Linked DNA regions of Homo sapiens: all the other regions are linked to region 1. The links are contacts of gene promoters, found by promoter capture Hi-C in human tissues and cell types (Jung and others, 2019). All regions are on one chromosome and are shown on one strand. Each heading gives the region's core, a stretch centred on a gene start or on the middle of the fragment in contact. The rest is flanking DNA. Distances are from core to core; before and after follow the strand shown.

Region 1 (2,700 bases), core at 32-2,531:
CATCCCACTCTCTGCCTGTGCCAGCCTGGTGATGCCCATGGCCTTGGGCCTTTCAGTGGCTCCTCCTCCAAGCCCCCTCCTCCAGCCCCACCCTTCGGGGCTATCTGGCCACACCTGGACAGAGTCTGCCTGCCCTCCCTCAGTGAGCCTGTGGGCCGCATGTGGCCTGCTCCCCAAAGAACGGAGGTGCCCGCTCCCTGCTTAGGCCTTCTGCCAGCTCTCAAGTCCCCAAAAGACAAACATCCTCACTAGGACCTGGCTACACACGGGACATTTGTGCTCCCTGCCCAACTTCCAGAGTCGGTCTGCCCCAGTTGCCCCCCGGGGACCCGCACCCTGCTGCCTCCCAGTCCAAGTCCAGCTTCCCCGCTGGCTCCCTAGGGCCTGTCCCTCTGTCTTGCTCCCTTCCCACACCTTCCTTCTGCTCTGTGCTGTTACCCACCTTACCTGATGCAGGAGTTCCCACTCTCTAGCCCCAGCCTCTCCTGGAAATCCGACAGCCAGCAGAATCCACCGCCCAGGCTCCCCCAGCCCCCTTCACTCCTCAACTAGGACTGCAGGGTTTCCATCCCGGGGGTCTCCTTCTGTCTTTACCTCTACTTCCTACCGCAGTCCACAGCCTGGCCATTCTACTTCCTCTGTATCTCTCCCATCCGTCCCTACGGAGACCCCTTCCCCCAGGCCTCTGGTCCGGACCGAGTCTACCACAGGCCTCAAGCATCCTGCTCGGTCCGCCCCTTGCGAGCTCTGAGTGCGCAGGAGTGCGCAGGGGGAGCTGACCGCACACCCCAGCACTACAAGGACTTCGCGGTGGGGTGCTGTGGAGTTGGCTTTCGGCCTCGACCTGGGCTGTCTGCGGGCCCCACTCCCTTGGCCGGTTCCGAGGCGCTGGGAGCGGGGGTGGGCTTGCGGAGTCGCGTCCGTGTCCCCGATCCGCCTTCCCGTCCCGGGCCTGGCCTACGCAGTGGGCGCGCAGGGGCGGCTGCTTCGGTAGATGTCTAGGGAGCGGAGGGAAAGGCGCGGGAACCGGGGATTCCTCGGGCGGACCCTCCCTCCACCAGCGCTCGGCGGGCCTCCTCCAAGTTCGCCCCCAAGTTTGCGAGCGGCCAAATGGGGGCGGGGGCTGCGCGGAGGGGCGGTGGCTAGGCCGGAGGGTGGGGTCTGGAGCGCGGGGCGGGCGCTGCCGCCTGGCCGGCCGCGGCTGGCCCGGGATCAGGGAGCCGATGTGGAATTTCCTGCCCGGCTCGGCGCCCCTCCTGCCGCCCCCCGCCCGGCCTCGCACTCCGCTTCCGGCCGCTCTCGCTGCGGCCGCACCCGCGCCCGTGCCCGCCCCGCGCCTGCCCCGCGCCTCATGGAGGGCGCAGGGCCCCGGGGGGCCGGGCCGGCGCGGCGCCGGGGAGCCGGGGGGCCGCCGTCACCGCTGCTGCCGTCGCTGCTGCTGCTGCTGCTGCTCTGGATGCTGCCGGACACCGTGGCGCCTCAGGAACTGAACCCTCGCGGCCGCAACGTGTGCCGTGCTCCCGGGTAGGAGCCGGCCTGGCTGGGGGAGGGGGCGAGAGGGACGCTCTGGGCAGTGGTGTGGCGGCGCCGGGCATTGGGAGGGGGCTACCGGAACCTTCCTACGCCAAGTGTGGGCCCCTTCGGCTCCCTAGCCAGCGCGGCTCCGTTCCAGGCCCAGCCTCGGCCATGGGCCACGACAGTGCATCCCAGGGAACCCTGGACGAGAAGTCACCTGAGGGGAGGATGGAGTGCCGTGGGCACCCAGGGGATGACACGCGTTGTCCGGGATATCAGGAAAGACCTGGAAAAAGGGACCCTTGACCGAGTTGTGAAGTCCACGGGGAAAAGCTGGGGAAGGGCATTCAAGCCAAAGGAACTGCATGTGCTAAAGCCCCGCACTAGTCCGACTGGAGCCGGGAGTGGGAGTGAGGAGGAAGGTCAGGGGAGGAGGAGCGGTGCTAGCCGGGGAGGTCCTGGAGCAAGCCAGACTTGGAAAGACAGATTCGCGTCTTAGAGCGGGCGCGGGTGGGAGGGTGGTGACCCAGGCGAGCGTCGAGGAGCCGGCGCTCGAAGTGGACCAGAAGCGGGAGGCGGAAGGACTATGACAGGCACAGGGGACCGGAGGATGTGGGAACCCTGGCGACAACCAGGTGGGGATTCTGGGTGCAAGAAGGGGCCGCGCAAATGTGGGGCGCCGGCTGGGGAAGCCAGTGTGGGACAGGCAGGCGACAGGCCCGGCCGGTGGGGGGGCGAGTCCGGGAGTTTGCACGGAGGGCAGAGAGGTGAGCCCCGGACGCCAGGAGTTAGGAGCTGGGGTCGGGGGAGCCGGTGGGCTGGCCAAAGGCCACAAGGTCAAGGGCATCTCCACGCAGGGGTGAGGAGCGGGCGTGTGGGGGCGCCTTGGCGCGGATTGGAGACGCCGCACGGGCTGGCAGCCGCAGAGGCGGCCGCCGGGCTCCGAGCTGGGTCGCGTCGGGGCGCCTGAGCCACGGACCCGGGGCAAGCCGAGTCCAGGGGCTCGGCGCCAGAGACAAGGGGCTGCGAGGGGGCAGCGCGGGGTTTCCGAACTCTGGTCCGGAGGCGCGCAGACCCCTCCCCGCTGCGAGCCCCGCCTCCGGGGCGGGGGCCGGCCTGGCCCGCCATCTGCTTCGCATCGATGCCGCCGCCGCGGACTCCCGGGCCTCCCCGGCCCCAGGAATG
Region 2 (2,700 bases), core at 155-2,654, 310 kb before region 1:
CTGATGAGAACTCTCACAGGTGGGCTGGACCAGCTTCTCCAAGGTGAGAAGGCCAGAGGCAGCAAAACACCCACATGGAGGCTGCCTGCAGCTCCCCAGAGGTATCCAGTGGTTCTGGAGCCTGTTGCAGATACTGTGTGCCTGGTCCAGGCAGCAGCGCCACCACAGGTGGTCAGGAGCCAGCCAGGGGTCACGAGAACGAGTCCAGCACACACGTGGCGTGTGTCTGAGCTGGGCTTCCTGAGCAGTGGGCCACTGGTGGGTCACAGCTGTGCAGAGACACCTCTCCTTCAGCCCTGGGGCCATCGGAGCCCATGGCCTGTCTTACCCCAGGGTGTCAGGTAGATACTGTTGTTTTCTCCATTATGTGAGAAATAATGGAGAACCCTGGTCAGAAACTAAGAGGATTGCTTTGGAAAGTGAGGGGTGTCCTGGCCAGTGCATAACCAAGGCAGTTGGTGTCAGGTTTGTCTGGCCCTAAGAAGTGGGGCTGGCAGGGGCCTGGGGAGCCTTTCTGACCAGGCGTTGCTCACCTTACTGCAATGAGCCTGAGGAGGCCAGGCATCCTGCTGCAAGGGCCTCCCGACCTCCTCCTTCAGCTGGCCTGAAGCAGATATGGGCTCGGGCTGGCAGCTGAGGGGGCTCCTAGAAGCAGACCTTCCTTGGAGGTTTGGCTCTTGGTCCTGAGAGCTGGCTCTTGGTGCAGGTTTCCCCACTTGCTCTGGAGCGGGACTGTGCTGAAGACCATGCTGGACATCCTGCAGACCCTGTCACTGTCACTGAGCGCTGTGAGTGTCCCCAGGAGACCTAGGGCCCAAACACCACCCGCTCTACCACCACCCCGCCGGCCCTGTCCGCCCTGTGTTGTGGCATGCTTCTCTGACAATAAGCCTGAACATAATTAATGCTACAGGTGTCGAGTTGGGGGTGAGGGGGCCCAAATCCACCTGGTGTTTTGCAATAAGTTGCATCAAGTATGGAGGCCTGTCACAGACAGACAGGTGGTGGGTAGGGGTGGCCCATGTGGTTGCTAGTGGCAACTTGGGGAAGGCAGTTTGGAAGAGGGAGTCTTGCTGTGCTTGCAGGATATTCACAAGGATCAGCCTTACTATGACATCCCCGACGCCCCCTACCGGATCACGGTTCCTGACACGTACGAAGCCCGTGAGGTAGGCCCGACACGATCCCCTGCACTAAGGGCCATCTTTACCACAATTCCCTGAGTATTTCCACGAGATGGTCAACCTGCATGAGCTCACCCAGTCCCCAGCAATTTGAGGTGTGGGTGGTGCTGGCCCCATCCCCCAGTGAGGAGACCAAGCCATTGCCAGGCTCCACCGAGTGCAAGGGGAGCTGGCTGCCCCCAGGTCGCTCTGTCTTCCAAGCCCAGCTCCCCCACCTCAGCCATGTTGACTCAGCTGTGTTCTCGGTTTAGCTGCCAAAGAGGTCTTCAGCTACCAGCCAGTTTATAGCCTCTCGAGTCTGCGTCGCACAAGCATGATTTTCAGGTGGACTTCACTTCTCTGAGGTGCACTGACATTTTGTTATTGTGGTAATAGGGGATCATGCCTTTGACTTGTGCTATCCAATGGGGAAACTGGCAGAATAAATCACTCCAAAAGAGGAGGATGTACTGGGTCTCTCCTCTCCCCAACTCGGTCTCAGAGCCCTCACTGTGGCAAGACTGCAACTCAGCTCACAGCTCCTTCAGCCTGGGCTGAGTCATGTCCTACCTCTGGACCTCTGCCAGACCAGCTGTCAATGGGGAGTTTCCCACAGAGTGGTGTGGCACCGAAGAGGATTTTGCCACGCAGAGCCTGCCCTTCCATCCAGTCCCAGACCCAGGACACAAGTTGCACAGTGTCCCTGTGACATGTTATTCTTGTAGATTCTGCCACAAACCTTGTGCAGGAATTACATACAGATCATAGTGTGTGTGGGCTTCCTGGCCCCAGGGGCCTTGAGGTTCAAACTTAGTGGCTGTGCTAGTCTCTTGGGCTTCTGTAGCAAAAGACAATAGACTGGGCAGCTTGAAAGGTCTTGACAGACATTGATTGTCTTACAGTTCTGAGGGCCGAAGTGTAAAATCAAAGTGTTGGCAGAGCTGGTTTCTGTGGAGACCTCTCTCCTTGGCTTGTGAATGGCAGCCTTCTCCCTGTGTCTTTACGTGTTCTTCCCTCTGTGCACACCCTCCTCCCTGCCCCAGTATTTCTGTGTGTCCAGATTTCCTCTGCACACACGTAAGGAAGGATACTGGCCAGATTGGATCAGGACCTACCCTATCAGCCTTTTAATTGAATCACCTCTTTAAAGCCCTATCTCCAAATGAGTTCCACTCTGAGGTACTGGTACCAGTTAAGGCGCAGCATAGGGATTTGGGGAGACATAGTTCAGCCCATGACAGTCACTACGGCAGCTCAGATGAACTGACCTCGGGTTGTTGAGAAGCAGCTTCACCCTCTTCCAGAGCATTGTGAAGGACTTCGCTGCACGCTGTGGGATGATCCTCCAGGAGGCCATGAAGTGGGCACCTACCGTCACCAAGTCCCACCTGCAGGTACTTGAAACCATCAAAAGGCAATTGCCATAAGCTCCTTCAAACTCCCAAAAAAGCTTTACAGAGACATGAAGAACTCAAAATCCAAATAGCACTAGTGTGAATGGAGACTGGAAGCATCAGTCTAGGGCCTGAGAATAATA
Region 3 (2,700 bases), core at 179-2,678, 380 kb before region 1:
ACAATGAGGTGTAAAAAGCCACAAAAGGCCTCTAAAAAAAAAGCCTTATCGCCATTATGTTCCCATACTCTGAGCAAGACTTACTCTCTTATCCATAAACACTGTGTTAAAAAAAAAAAAACCACTCCTTTAAAACATGAAAATATGGCCAAACATACAGACTCCTAGTTAAGCCTGCTCCCACTAACTGCTGTCCAATAAGTTGAAAATATACTGTTTAAACACAAAAAAAATTCATTTAAACTGCCGCTACTATAGATTACACATATGACACACTGCCTCCCTTTCACCGTTTCGCCCTAAACATCTGCTTCTTAAATCTAAGTGATTATACTCAATAAATAGTGTAAAAACCAAAACTCTAGGCCTTTGCGGCCTCTGATTTGCTCTGGTCCCCTGGCTCCCGCCTTTATAAACTCTTAACCTGTTTCTTCTCATTCCTTTGTCGCCACCAAACATCAAATACCCTACAGGTGGTGTTGAGGCTAGTCCCCAACATAAGATTTATAAGTGATTTCATAGTCATAAAGTATATGTTTCATAGCAGTTGGGTGCCAAATGCTATTTTGCCTGGAAGACAGTTGGTGCCCTTAAGAAGTATATAATTGACTCATGGAGAAAAGACAAAAACACAAAACACTGAGGACAATTCAGCTCAGTAATCAAGTGTCAAATATACGGCTAAACACAAAGAATTTAGTGATATAGCATGTAGTAGAGAATGCTGTAGCTGTGATGGGCTTTAGGAAGGAAATGAGGCTTCAACCAGAACTTGAAGTACAAACATTGGGCTGGCAGAGAGGACCTTGTCTAAGACAAATCTGATGGAGGTCTCACTGGTCTTTTCTGATATGTAACTGTGGTTGTGTGTTTCAGGTCAGCCCTGAACGCGGCATGCCCCCTCCCAGTTCCCCTGGAGGATCTGCCTTTCACTACTTTGAAGGTGGGCTTCACCTTTCCGAAGAATATTTTGACGTAATACTTGGAGAACAGGCTCACAGTGACTTCTCGTGATATTAAGGATGCTGATACTAACTCTGTTGTCATGGATGGACCTAGAGTGCCAAGCTTTTAGGAAGCATTTATTTTCTGTTTTCATTTAAGTTTCTTAAAATTTAATTTTCAAATATTTTATATATAGAGAAAAGTACATTTAATTTTCAAATATTTTATTTAGAGAGAAAAGTACAGAAAATAACTTACAGACCCCTATATACCTGCCATCAGAATTTTTGCACTTTAACTTGTAAAAGTTCTTTTCAGGTGGAAGTACTAATGGTGGATATTTCTTTTCTTTTTCTGAGATAGAGTCTGGCTCTGTTGCCCAGGTTGGAGCGCAGTGGTGTAGTCTCGGCTCACTGCAGGCCCTGCCTCCTGGGTTCAAGCAATTCTCTTGCCTCAGCCTCCCAAGTAGCTGGGATTACAGGCACACACCAGCATGCTCAGCTAATTTTTGTATTTTTAGTAGAGACAGGGTTTCACCATGGTGGCCAGGCTTGTCTTGAACTCCTGACCTCAAGTGATCCACCCATTTCTTCCTTCCAGAGTGCTAGGATTACATGCATGAGCCACCACACCTGGCTGGACATTTTTTTTTAATGACATTAAGTATGTAGATAATATTAAAGAATGTAGTAATACTACTGTTACTACTTTTTTTTTTTTTTTTTTTTTTTTTTTTTTTTTTTTTTGGAGAGAGAGTCTCACTCTGCCACCCAGGCTGGAGTGCAGCGGCATGATCATGGCTCACCGCAGCTTCAACCTTCTGGGCTCAAGTGATCCTCCCACCTCAGCCTCCCAAGTAGCTAGGACTATAGGCACCCTCCACAACGCCCACTAACTTGTGTATTTTTTGTAGAGATGGGGTTTTGCCATGTTGCCCAGGCTGGTCCGGAACTCCTAGGCTCAAGGGAACGCCTGCCTTGGTCTCTCAAAGTGCTAGGATTACAGCCGTGAACCACCATACCCAGCCCATTACTACTTTTTATAGAGCTCTGCTGTTCACAAAGTACTTTTACATAATTTACTGAATTGGATTCATGTGACTACCCTGTGCCATGTCAGACACATGTTAAAATTATTTCTACCTTACTTGATGGAAGTAAGACCCAGATTAAGGGACAGCAAATGGGGAAGGCAGAATTCCATGCTTCAGTATAGTCTCTCCTTTTTTGAATAATGCTATTTGTTAAAAGAGCATGTCTCAAGACAGTTTCGAGAGATGTGAGGGGAATTTTGAAGGAAAAAGGGAATATCTGGGCTTACATAAATGTAGGAAGCTTTCCATCTCTTAGATCTGTGAGAATGTAACAGGTTACATTCTATATATGTGTTAGAATATAAGAGCTAATTTCAGCCACTCAGAATCGCACCTCTTAGAGACAACTCCTTGTTTAAGTATAGAATGTATTCCTCCAGGCTCTGAAAATCTCACTGCCACCTGCCTGCCTTTGGGGCATTTTAGGATGGCCATGATGTGCCCTTGGAGGCTTCCCTTTTCCTGGTAAACAGCTCATTGTCCACCCTCTGTGGTGAGGGCTCCTCTCCATGACCGCTGCCCCACTTTGAGCACATCCAGTAAGTGGCAGATGGGAGCACACTAATGTGGCTGACTGCGAGATCCCCACGTATCACTCCATCAGACTTGGCTGCCGCCCACTTTGCCTGTAGTGGTGACGAGACAAGCGAGCCCTGCTCTCT
Region 4 (2,700 bases), core at 194-2,693, 280 kb before region 1:
GCTGGTCTCGAACTCCTAACCTCAGGTGATCCACCTGCCTTGGCCTCCCAAAGTGCTGGGATTACGGGCGTGAGCCACCACACCCAGCCTATTTTTGTATTTAATAGACATGAGGTTTCCCCATGTTGGTCAGGCTGGTGTCAAACTCCTGACCTCAGGTGATCCACCTGCCTCGGCCTCCCAAAATGCTGGGATTACAGGCGTGTGCCACCACACCCAGCCTGGAATATTTTTTAAGTTTAAAAAAATTTATATCACTATGGCAATACAAATGTATATACATATTTGTTTATACTTTTACAAAAAAAGGGAACAGTAGGCCGGGCGCGGTGGCTCACGCTTGTAATCCCAGCACTTTGGGAAGCCGAGGCGGGTGGATCACGAGGTCAGGAGATCGAGACCATCCTGGCTAACACGGTGAAACCCCGTCTCTACTAAAAATACAAAAAAAGATTAGCCAGGCTTGGTGGGCACCTGTAGTCCCAGCTACTCGGGAGGCTGAGGCAGGAGAATGGCGTGAACCCGGGAGGCGGAGCTTGCAGTGAGCTGAGATTGCACTCCAGCCTGGGAGACAGAGCGAGACTCTGTCTCAAAAAAAAAAAGGAACAGTAAATCAAAAGTTAATAAAAATGGCCAAAGAGGGAGAGATCAGGATGGAACTGACAGATATGTACCATATTTAATAATTTTGACTTTGGAACTCTGTCAGTGTTTACATAATTAAAAAGCAAACTTATATTTAAAAACACTACACATTGAACATTCATAGTTTGTCTTTAGATCCATTTGCCGGGTTAGAATTGGGAAACCCAAAGTGAAGACTTCTGCCTGTGTGGTAAGACCACCCCCGACTCACCCAGGTCAAAAATGTCCATCCAAGGGACACTTCACCAGATCAGTGGCCACAGACTCCAGGAGGCTGCCCAGAAAGGCCAGCTCACCTTTTTAAACCTAGGGCATGGAATTAAAACTGGAGTTTCAAAACTTATGGCTCTAGGAACAAAAAAAATTTTTTTAATTAAAAAGAAAAACTGGAGTTACTACTATGAGTGGCGGAAAATGACCAAGAAGGAAGAGGAGGATAGGTCCTTAGGATGGTGACCACAGTTGTGTATATTAGTCCATTTTCACACTGCTATAAAGAACTTCCTGGCCAGGTGCGGTGGCTCATAACTGTAATTCCAGCACTTTGGGAGGTTGAGGTGGGTGGATCACCTGAGGTGAGGAGTTCAAGACCAGCCTGAACAACATGGCGAAACCCTGTCTCTACTAAAAATACAAAAATTAGCCAGATGTGGTGGTGTGCGCCTGTAATCCCAGCTACTCGGGAGGCTGAGGCAAGAGAATTGCTTGAACCTGGGAGGTGGAGGTTGCAGTGAGCTGAGATTGTACCACTGCACTACAGCCTGGGTGACAGACCGAGACTCTGTCTCAAAAACAAACAAACAAACAAAAAAACTTCCCGAGACTGGGTAATTTATAAAGGAGGCTTAATTGACTCACAGTTCCACGTGGCTGGGGAGGCCTCAGGAAACAGAATCATGGTGGAAGGGGAAGTAGGTCCGTCTTACCTGGCAGCAAGCGAAAGAGAGCAAGTGTGTGTGTAGGAGGAACTGTCAAACATTTATAAAACCATCAGATCTCCTGAGAACTCATTCGCTGTCATGAGATCAACAAGGGGGAACCGTCCCCATGATCCAGTCACCTCCCACCAGGTCTCTTCCTCAACACCTGAGGATTACAATTCAAGATGACATTTGGGTGGGGACACAAAACCTAATCATATCAGTGTGTCAGTTTGTGAAGGAGGTATCTCTGCATGTTTCTGGAACCTGTCTGTCACTTTGGAACATTGTTCTAAACAACCAGCTCACAAGTGAGTTTTTAGTACCCAGCCTGCTTTTTCTCGTACTTGACAACTCCAGAAATTGGTTTGAGAGTTGTGCTTCTTAAACCCATGGGAAGACACAGAGGAGACAAAGGCTGACTGTCGCCCGCTTTGCAACCCTGCCCCCCAGGTCCCAGCCCCCAGCCAGCTGGAACTTGGCCTGGCCACTGGCTGGACTCAACATCAATCCTGGAGAGCTTGTCCACACCACTAGAGCCACCGGGCCTTACCCTTGCCTGGTCTACCAAATGCCGGGAGTCAGCAGCTGCTGACAAGGCCCTCCTCATGGAGAGGGCCGAGCCTGGCTGACAGGGACCTTGCTCTCCTGCAGATGGGCTATGTGCGGGAGTATATTCTGTGGGCAGCGTCTAAATCCCAGCTTCTGGCACACCAGTTCATCTGGAACATGAAGACTAACATTTATCTAGATGAAGAGGGCCACCAGAAAGACCGTGAGTATTTTGTCCTCCCACAGGCCTCACTTACTGTCTTCAGTGCACTGCCAAGCACCTTCTACAGCCCCCAGGGCTCTCGCCAGCCTGCACTGCCCCAGCTCACCGACCCCTCCACTCCCACCCTTTGCTGGGGCACTTCTCACCTTTCAGCACACAGGGGAGCAGGACCCCTCCTTCATGACACCTTTGCTAACTTGCTGTCCGATGCCACCCTGCACTCCCAAGTGCGAGTGAGACCCTTCTGCTCCAGTGGCTGCTTCTGCAGAGTCTCCATGGTCAACACAACTGTGACTGCATGTGAGGAAGGGGCCGTCAGCCCAGGGCAGCGGTTCCCAAATAGCACAGCCTCAGGACCCC
Region 5 (2,700 bases), core at 50-2,549, 410 kb before region 1:
ATTCCAGGGCTCAAGCCGTCTGCCCACTTCGGCCTCGCAAAGTGCTGGGATTATAGGCATGAGCCACTGTGCCTGGCCTAGACATTTTTAAAAATAGAAATTACATTTTTTTGGAGACAGTTTTGCTTTTTCACTCAGGCTGGAGTGCAGTGGCATGATCATAACTTACTACCACCTTGAATTCCTTGGTTTGAGGGATCCTCCTGCCTCAGCCTCCCAAGTAGTTGGGACTACAGGCACGCACATTGTACCTGGCTAAGTAAAAAAAGAAAAATTTTTTTAGAGATGGGGTCTTACTATCTTGCCCAGGCTTAGCTCAAACCGTGGGCTCAAGTGATCCACTCACCTCAGCCTCTCAAAGTGCTGAGATTATAGGCTTGAGTCACTGTACCCAGCGAAAATTTTAAAAAATTTTAGTAGGCCGGGCGCGGTGGCTCACACCTGTAATCCCAGCACTTTGGGAGGCCGAGGCGGGCGGATCACGAGGTCAGGAAATCCAGACCATCCTGGCTAACACGGTGAAACCCCGTCTCTACTAAAAATACAAAAAATTAGCTGGGCGTGGTGGCCTGTAGTCCCAGCTACTGGGGAGGCTGAGGCAGGAGAATGGCATGAACCTGGGAGGCGGAGCTTGCAGTGAGCTGAGATCACGCCACTGCACTCCAGCCTGGGTGACAGAGCAAGACACCGTCTCAAAAAAAAAAATTTTTTTTTAAATGAGTATTTATAGTCCCAGAGACCTATGGGGACTCCTTTAGCATGCGCCACCACAGTCAGCTAATTTTTTGTATTTTAGTAGAGACGGGGTTCCAGGCTAGTCTTGAACTCCTGGCCTCAAGTGATCCACCTGCCTTGGCCTCCCAAAGTGCTGGTGTTAACAGGCGAGCCACCGTGCCTGGCTTGAGTGTTTAGATTTTTGTTGTGTTACTTTAGGGAATGTTGGGCTTTGTTCTGGTCGGCAGTTGCTTGTGGTTTGATTTGATCCTTCATAGGCTAGGTTTTTCAATAGTGCTTTCTTGAGATATAATTCACATACCACAAAATTTACCCATTTAAAATGTACAGTTCATCATATTTAGTGTATTCACAGAGTTGTCCATCCATCACCATGATCAATTTTAGGTCATTTTCATTGCCCTCAAAAGAAACCTTGCTGTTACCCTGCAGCCCTACCAGCCCCATCCCTAGACAACCACTAGTTTACTTTCTGTCTCTGTAGATTTATTCTGAACATTTTGTAGAAATAGAATTCTATAAGATGTGGTTTTTTGTGGTGGCTTATTTTTATTTTTATTTTTTTTTGAGACAGAGTTTCGCTCTGGAGCCCAGGCTAGAGTGCAGTGGCGCGATCTCGGCTCACTGCAAGCTCTGCCTCCCAGGTTCACACCATTCTTCTGCCTCAGACTCCCGAGTAGCTGGGACTACAGGCGCCCGCCACTGCGCCCGGCTAATTTTTTGTATTTTTAGTAGAGGCAGGGTTTCATCGTGTTAGCCGGATGGTCTTGATCTCCTGACCTTGTTGTGATCCACCTGCCTCGGCCTCCCAAAGTGCTGGGATTACAGGTGTGAGCCACTGCACCTGCCATGATGGTTTTTACTTGGCGTATTTTCAAGGTTCATCCATGTTGTAGCATCTCATTACTTCATTTTTATTACTAAATAATATTTGTATGCATATACCATATTTTATCCATTCATTAGTAGGTGGATGTTTGGATTGTTTCTACATTTTGACTATTATAAATAACGCTGCTATGGAAATTCACGTACAAGTGTTTCTGTAGACATATTTTCATTTCTCTTGGGTCTTTAACTAGATGTGGAATTGCTGGGCCATACAATAACTCTAGGTTTAACCTTTAGAGGAACTCCAGACTGTTTTCCAAAGTTACTACACCATTTACATTCCCACCAACGGTGTACAGAGGGCTTGTTTTCTTTACATTGTCACCAACACTCTGTATTGTCTGTCTTTCCAGTTATAGCCATCCTAGTGGATGTGAAGTGGGATCTTATTATTCTGTTGTTGATATGCATTTGCCTGATGGTTAATGATGTTGAGCCAGCCTATTCTATCCTAGAACAGCCACTCTTTTGGGGTATTTGTAGATCTTCTTTGGAGATATATCTATTCAGATTCTTTGCCCAATTTTAAATTGTAGTATTTTTTTAATTAAGTTGTAATAGTTCTTTATTTTAGATAAAAGTTTCTTAATAAGATATATGATTTGCAAATATTTTCTCCCATTCTGTGGGCTTTTTCACTTTCTTCATGGTGTTCTTTGAAGTACAAAAGTTTTAAATTTTGATGATGTCCATTTTGTCATTTTTTTTTTCTTTTGTCCCTTGTGCTTTTTGTGTTGTATCTAAGAAACCACTGTCTAATTTCAAGGTCACAAAGACTTACACCTGTGTTTTTTGTTAGCAGTTTTATAGTTTAGCTCTTACATTTGAGTTTTTGATCCATTTTGAGTTAAGATTTTATGTGATATGAGATGGGGGTCCAGTTTCATTCTTTTGCATGTGAATATCCAGTTGTCTCAGCACGATTTCTTGGAAAGACTATTCTTTTTTCCATTGAGGGGTCCTGGAACCCTTGTCAAAAATCAGTTGACTGTAAGTGTGAGGGTTTATTTGGTCTGTATGTCTTTCCTGATGTTGGCTAGTATACTGTCTTGATTACTTTAGCTTTGTAGTAAG

Evidence for each region. The method cuts DNA at HindIII sites, captures the fragments that hold promoters and counts their contacts. A contact is called where the count stands out against the background at its distance.
Region 2: a fragment that was not itself captured here is called in contact with the fragment with the promoter of SCARF2 in region 1 in 3 of the 25 tissues and cell types used here (dorsolateral prefrontal cortex, hippocampus and lymphoblastoid cells).
Region 3: a contact is called between a fragment that was not itself captured here and the fragment with the promoter of SCARF2 in region 1, in 1 of the 25 tissues and cell types used here (hippocampus).
Region 4: a contact is called between a fragment that was not itself captured here and the fragment with the promoter of SCARF2 in region 1, in 3 of the 25 tissues and cell types used here (IMR-90 fibroblasts, dorsolateral prefrontal cortex and spleen).
Region 5: a fragment that was not itself captured here is called in contact with the fragment with the promoter of SCARF2 in region 1 in 2 of the 25 tissues and cell types used here (liver and thymus).

What each region holds. Positions count from the first base shown.
Region 1 is chr22:20,436,406-20,439,105 of GRCh38, reverse strand. It overlaps SCARF2 (scavenger receptor class F member 2), which reads left to right and starts at 1,281. Exons shown (of 11, transcript NM_182895.5): 1 at 1,281-1,524. The coding sequence starts at 1,352. It overlaps LOC107985588 (a long non-coding RNA gene), which reads right to left and starts at 1,110. Exons shown (of 2, transcript XR_001755623.2): 1 at 595-1,110. The HindIII fragment of the contact is 17,878 bases long and covers 1-2,700 here.
Region 2 is chr22:20,749,762-20,752,461 of GRCh38, reverse strand. PI4KA (phosphatidylinositol 4-kinase alpha) reads left to right here. Exons shown (of 55, transcript NM_058004.4): 26 at 707-788; 27 at 1,086-1,169; 28 at 2,468-2,557. Among named protein-coding and RNA genes, the nearest start is that of SERPIND1, 23 kb to the left of the region's middle. RefSeq lists enhancers at 198-995, 2,017-2,136. The HindIII fragment of the contact is 5,728 bases long and covers 1-2,700 here.
Region 3 is chr22:20,816,726-20,819,425 of GRCh38, reverse strand. It overlaps PI4KA (phosphatidylinositol 4-kinase alpha), which reads left to right. Exons shown (of 55, transcript NM_058004.4): 7 at 877-943. Among named protein-coding and RNA genes, the nearest start is that of PI4KA, 41 kb to the left of the region's middle. The HindIII fragment of the contact is 4,714 bases long and covers 1-2,700 here.
Region 4 is chr22:20,720,938-20,723,637 of GRCh38, reverse strand. It overlaps PI4KA (phosphatidylinositol 4-kinase alpha), which reads left to right. Exons shown (of 55, transcript NM_058004.4): 43 at 2,220-2,340. Among named protein-coding and RNA genes, the nearest start is that of SERPIND1, 52 kb to the left of the region's middle. The HindIII fragment of the contact is 5,585 bases long and covers 1-2,700 here.
Region 5 is chr22:20,848,456-20,851,155 of GRCh38, reverse strand. The region is part of intron 1 of PI4KA (phosphatidylinositol 4-kinase alpha); the gene reads left to right. Among named protein-coding and RNA genes, the nearest start is that of PI4KA, 9.0 kb to the left of the region's middle. The HindIII fragment of the contact is 9,318 bases long and covers 1-2,700 here.